Linked DNA regions of Homo sapiens: region 2 is linked to region 1. Evidence: promoter capture Hi-C in human tissues and cell types (Jung and others, 2019). All regions are on one chromosome and are shown on one strand. The core of a region is centred on a gene start or on the middle of the fragment in contact, and the rest is flanking DNA. Distances in the headings are between cores, read along the strand shown. Region 1 holds the start of GAST (gastrin). Region 2 overlaps ACLY (ATP citrate lyase).

Region 1 (2,734 bases), core at 61-2,560:
GCTGCAGCCTCGACCTCTTGGGCTCAAGAGATCCTCCCACCTCAGCCTCCTGAGTAGTTGGGACTACAAGTGTGCACTACTATGCCCAGCTAATTTTTTTGTTTTTATTTTTAGTAGAGATGAGGTCTCACTATGTTGCCCAGGCTGGTCTGGAACTCCTGAGCTCAAGCAATCTGCTTGCTTCAGCCTCCCAAAGTGTTGTGATCACAGGCATGAGCCACGGTGCCTGGCCATTAAGTTTTTCATAATCAGGTTTTCTGTTAGGTTTTCTTTGGAAGAAAAGAATTCTGCTGCTGAAGAAATGTTTGAAAAATCAGTGATCTGGAGCTGTATTGTCAGATGCTAACCACATGTGTTGTTCAGTGCTATAGCCACCAGCCACATGTGGCTCTTTACATTTAAATTAATTAAATTAAAAAATTATGGTCAGGTGCAGTGGCTCACGCCTGTAATCCCAGCACTTTGGGAGGCTGAGGGGGTTGGATCACTTGAGGTCAGGAGTTTGTGACCAGCCTGGCCAACATGGTGAAACTCTGTCTCTACCAAAAATATGAAAAATTAGCTGGGTGTTGTGGCAGGCGCCTGTAATCCCGGCTACTCGGGAGGCTGAGTCAGGAGAATTGCTTGAACCTGGGAGGCAGAGGTTGCATGTCACTGCACTCCAGCCTGGGTGACACGGCGAGACTCTATATAAAAAAACAAACAACAACAACAACAAAAACTTCCTTACACTAACCCCATTTCAAGCGCACACGTGGCTAGTGGCTACCATATTGAACAGTGCAGATGAAGACCATTTCCTGCATCATAGGACGTTCTTTTGGATGGCACTGGTCTAGGAAAGGGCTTGAAGTGGGATCCAGGAGCTGTGGATTCCTATCCCAGCCTTGCCTAATAATCCCTGTGACTTTGGGCAAGTCACATCTTGCCTCTGGGCCTCAGTTTTCTTGTCTGAGAGAAAGGAGAAGAACCCCAGTCCTCCTCACCTCCCAGGGCTGGGAAGAGTGTGAAGGGATAGGCTAAGGGCAGGGCCCCGGCTGCGGCAGAAGGGCAGGTGGAAGGCAAGGTTGGGAATACCAGGGTAGGTACTGGAGCCAAGACCTAGTTCCATCCTGGGATAAAGAAAGGGTCCCAGCTCTGGAGACCCCAAGGGGTGAGCCCCAGACTCTGGCCAGTGGCCTGGTACCTTGATGGGGGAGAGGACCTGTCAACCCACTTCCTAGCCTCTCCCCTCTCCTCCTGGGTTTTCTCACCTGCAGAGCTGGGAGGTGTGTGGTGCCACGGCTGGGCCTGGTGCCTCTCAGGTCTCTGCTCTGCTTGATGCTCCAGGCCTGCCTTATAAAGCCCTCAAGGTCCCTCCCAACTGTCCCCCCACCCCGCCCCTACCCTGCCATATGAGTCCAGGCGAGAGGAATGGGGTGGGGCACAGGTACAGCCCATCACCCTGCCCCGCCCTTTCATTTAGTGTCAGTCAGTCATCCAGGATGTGGGGGAAGGATAGGGGAGTTGACCTTCATGGTGAGGGGCTGGAGCGGGGTGGCGGCAGCTCTCCAGCTGTACCTGAGGGGCAGGAACCAAGCTCCCTGGGTCAGGAGCAATGCTTCCCACCATATCCTGGGGGTCAGAGGCCTGGCACTTATCTCTCGAACTACATAGGGACCTTTGTGGGTGGTGGTAGGTGAGGGAGTGAACCCGATGGGCTTAGATTCAGGGAAAGTGGATTTCGCCATCCACTGATGTTTGGCAAGCGTGTGAATGTGGGGTGATGTATTGATTCCCCGTCCCCTCCACTGGACTCTGCAAACATAACGTGTTACCAGGAGCAATGGGTTGTGGGCTGATGGCCCTGTTCTCTCCTTCTAGTGGCTCACATCCTGGTCACCTCTGAAGTCCTTTCACCCTCCCCCTACCATGGAACACCCTTGGTGCCTTCTTCTCCTTAGGCCCTCTGTGCTGGGCTGGGTTTGGCTTGTAGCTGCCCCGTGTCTTCTAGGTCAGCTGCCCATGCACCACCACTTGCAAACCCCCTATGCAGAACCAATTCCTGGAGGGTCCTGCCTTTGAAGCCTCCTTCATTTTGCTTTCAAGGGGAGCTAGTAATCTGCATAACAACTTTTTTTTTTTTTTGAGACAAAGTCTAGTTCTGTCACCAGGCTGGAGTGCAGGAGTGCAGTGGTGTGATCTCGGCTCACTGGAACCTCCGCCTCCTGGGTTCAAGCGATTCTTCTGCCTCAACCTCCCTAGTAGCTGGGATTACAGGCGCACGCCCCCACGCCTGGCTAATTTTTTGTATTTTTAGTAGAGATGGGGTTTCATCGTGTTGGGCGGGCTGGTCTCGAACTCCTGACCTCATGATCGGCCCAGCTTAGTCTGCCAAAGTTCTGGGATTACAGACGTGAGCCACCATGCCCAGCCAACAACTTTTCAGTATCAAAATATACCTTCAAATGGTTAGCAAACAGACTAAAGCATTTGCCAAAGATGGACCAGAAAACAAAATGGTACCTTGTTGACTTATTTGATAAACTGCTGCCTCCACATGGTTTGACCAGATGTAATGAGCCGTAGGCTGTTTTTTACTTTTCCACTGTTGAGAGCAGAGATTTTGCTCCTGTTCATGCGTCATTGGGCCCCCACCTTTTCTGGGAGAGTTTGATCCCCTTGGGTATTGGGTAACTGCAGTGGTACCCATGCTTACAGCCAGCCTTGCTGAGAATTAATGGGTGATGAAGGA
Region 2 (2,700 bases), core at 97-2,596, 180 kb before region 1:
TTGCAGCCAGCTCTACATAAGTGGTGTTAGTTACCCCTGGGCTGGTATACCTGTGCAGCCTCTTCCTGGGACACACTTTGCTATGGCATTTTGGAAAATAGTGACACTGTCCCAAATCAGCATCCTTGTCCATGGCACGGGTCAACCCCATGCTGGCCAATCATCTCATAGTGTTTCATGGAGACAAAAAGGGATTGGCATTAAGAGGGTGGGACTGCGCCAGCTAGAGAGCCCAGAGTTCAAGTCATCCAGCTGTCCCTGCAGAGGGCCTGGGGGAGGCGCTGGTGTTGAGCACATCTGCCCAGCCTTTGTCCTCCTCCTGCCCCCTCTCTGCCCGTTTGGTCTTTGCTCTTTCTTGCTTCCATTCTGCTCATCGGTGCTTTCACCTCTTCTGCTGGCCTTACTCCGTTGTCCATTGCAGAACAGGAGAGGGATGATGAGGGCTTTAGCCCTGAAAGGCTTGTCCATGGGACCCTTCCCTGTTCCCACCCTCTCCCTCCAAAGCCTCCAGCCATCAGTGGGTCACTCAGTTGCCTTGGTCATTTTCTTTGACAGATTCAGTCCCAAGTCCAAGATCCCTGCAAGGTAGGATGCCCCCACCCTGCCCCCACTCCGCGTGTGGCTTTGTTAGCGGGTGACAGTTTTACTGTGTGCTCTGTTTCCCCCTCCCCTGGTGGGTTGCAGTGTCGTCTGGTCTATTTTCTGTCCCTGCCTTGATGTGGCCTGACCCCAAGTCCTAAGTCTTCGCTCTTCCTCCCCTCCTATCCGTGCTCAGTACGCGCCCCACTCAGTCCTCTCCTCACTGTGTGGCTGTTTCTGGCTCCAAGCTTGGGAAGGGGTAGAGATTTTGGAAGGAGCAAGAGCCAGACCCACAGCCCTGGAGAGTGTAGTGGTGTCAAGGAGAGAGTGTCGCCTGGGAAGGAGGGAGCCATCCAACTAAATGGGGAGTGGCAGAGAGTCGTGGGCGTCTGTCACTGCTGGGGTGCAGAAGGGGAGCCACAAGTCACCCCTGCTTCTCATTTACATCTCCTGATGTCATTTTCCCACCTTTCCTGCCTCGGCTTCACCACTGCCAGCTTCATCCTCAAGCTCCAGGGACCAGTTTATCTTTTTCTGGGGTTGTGGTGGAGGAACAAAAGAGGTGAAGAAGGAGGTAGACGGAAGCGCAGAAGGGTGTGCAGCGGATCTAGTGACTGGGTAATTGGAAGGGGTATGAGCTTTGTCTGGTGTATGAGGTCACATTTTACAGTGGATACTTCTGTGCATGCGCATTCACCCACCAGCCTAGCTGAGTAGATTAATTGGTTCATGGCATCAGAGCGTCCATTTAACTTTGACATTCACAGCCGTGGAGGCGGGGAAGTCTTTGTTGTCCCCTTGCTAAGGGGAGGGGAAGGAGTAATTGGCAGGGTCGATAACCAGCTGGAAAGGCCTGGAATGCAGCACTGTGGCCACCTGGCTTTAATCCTGATGTTTTTGCCTCTGGAAAAAGTTAAGAGCAGAGTGAGCCCAGTGTGGAAAGAACAGGGACCAGCCCTGGTTCTCCAGGAGCTCTCTGTGCTCTGAAGGGGAGGAGGGTTATGAGGAGGGGGGTTATCCTTGTTACTTTCTGGAGTGAGAGAAATAAAAGGAGGGTGTGTCAGGGAGAACAGATTATGGCTGAGCGAGCCCTCCCCTCAGCGAGGCCAGAGGAGGCCTGGTGTAGGGGGCATAGCCCCTGGCACAGAGGTTCTCTCTGGAGCCTCTCTGCTGCTGGTGGGCTGAGGATACACCCTTCAGCTTTGGTTTCTCTGTGCTTGAGGAAGGGCCACTTTACCTCCACCCTTCCTGCTGGAGATGCTGGTAGGTTGGTAGATTCCAGGCTTTGTCTTGATTTCTGTAGCTGGCAGGGTAGATAGATCAGAGGCATGTGCACGTGCGTCACCTGGCGGGGGTGACATGATGCAGGCTTCCCCTGAGGATGGCGGGTCATGAACTCACACTTATATTCTCCCTCCTCACTTTCACAGTTGAGCTGCATTTTAAGTGATTGTGTAATCCTGGCTCTGATGCTGGATGACCTCGGACCTCAATCATTTGGCATCTCTGGGCTTCAGTTTCCTAGGACTGGGAAGTGGGAGAACTGGATTAGGTGGCTCCCCTTGTTCTGTGATCTCATGTCTCAGCAGAACCCGGGGGGTCTAGGTGACAGTAAATCCCAGGTATTTGCAACATCAGGAACCTTCTGTCATGAGAAGCTGTAAGGCTGTGATGGAAGAGGCAGGCCTGTACAGGGATTTAATGAGACCATGAACTTGGTTAGCCAAGCCTGCTCTAGTACAGTAGGTTAATTAATACGAGATGCCACTGGGCTAGATGCATCATTCTTCCTAGGGGAGCTCAGAACCTCCCTGAGGGCTGCTTTCCTCCTCTTGGACTTGCAGGGACCCAGAGGGGAAAGTCAACTGCCTGAAGCGTGGTAAAAGTCCTTTCCCTTTAGGCTAAGGACTGCACTTTTTTCTTTTTTTTTTTAAATATACTTGCTGCATTAAAATTTTCTTTTTAAAATTTTTGTGGGTACATAGTAGGGGTGCATGAGATATTTTGGTACAGGCGTGCAATGCGTAATAATCGCATCATGGAAGGTTTTTCTTTGTTGTTTTTTTTTTTGAGGTGGGGTCTCACTATGCCGCGGTGGCTGGTTTCGAATTCCTGGGCTCA

Evidence for each region. Contacts are between HindIII fragments. The study calls those that stand out against the background at their distance.
Region 2: a fragment that was not itself captured here is called in contact with the fragment with the promoter of GAST in region 1 in 2 of the 25 tissues and cell types used here (dorsolateral prefrontal cortex and pancreas).

What each region holds. Positions count from the first base shown.
Region 1 is chr17:41,710,907-41,713,640 of GRCh38, reverse strand. It overlaps GAST (gastrin), which reads right to left and starts at 1,310. Exons shown (of 3, transcript NM_000805.5): 1 at 1,254-1,310. The HindIII fragment of the contact is 8,154 bases long and covers 1-2,734 here.
Region 2 is chr17:41,894,505-41,897,204 of GRCh38, reverse strand. ACLY (ATP citrate lyase) reads left to right here. Exons shown (of 29, transcript NM_001096.3): 14 at 556-585. It overlaps LOC124904005 (a long non-coding RNA gene), which reads right to left. Exons shown (of 2, transcript XR_007065757.1): 1 at 1,817-2,700; 2 at 1,439-1,482. Among named protein-coding and RNA genes, the nearest start is that of ACLY, 23 kb to the left of the region's middle. The HindIII fragment of the contact is 6,856 bases long and covers 1-2,700 here.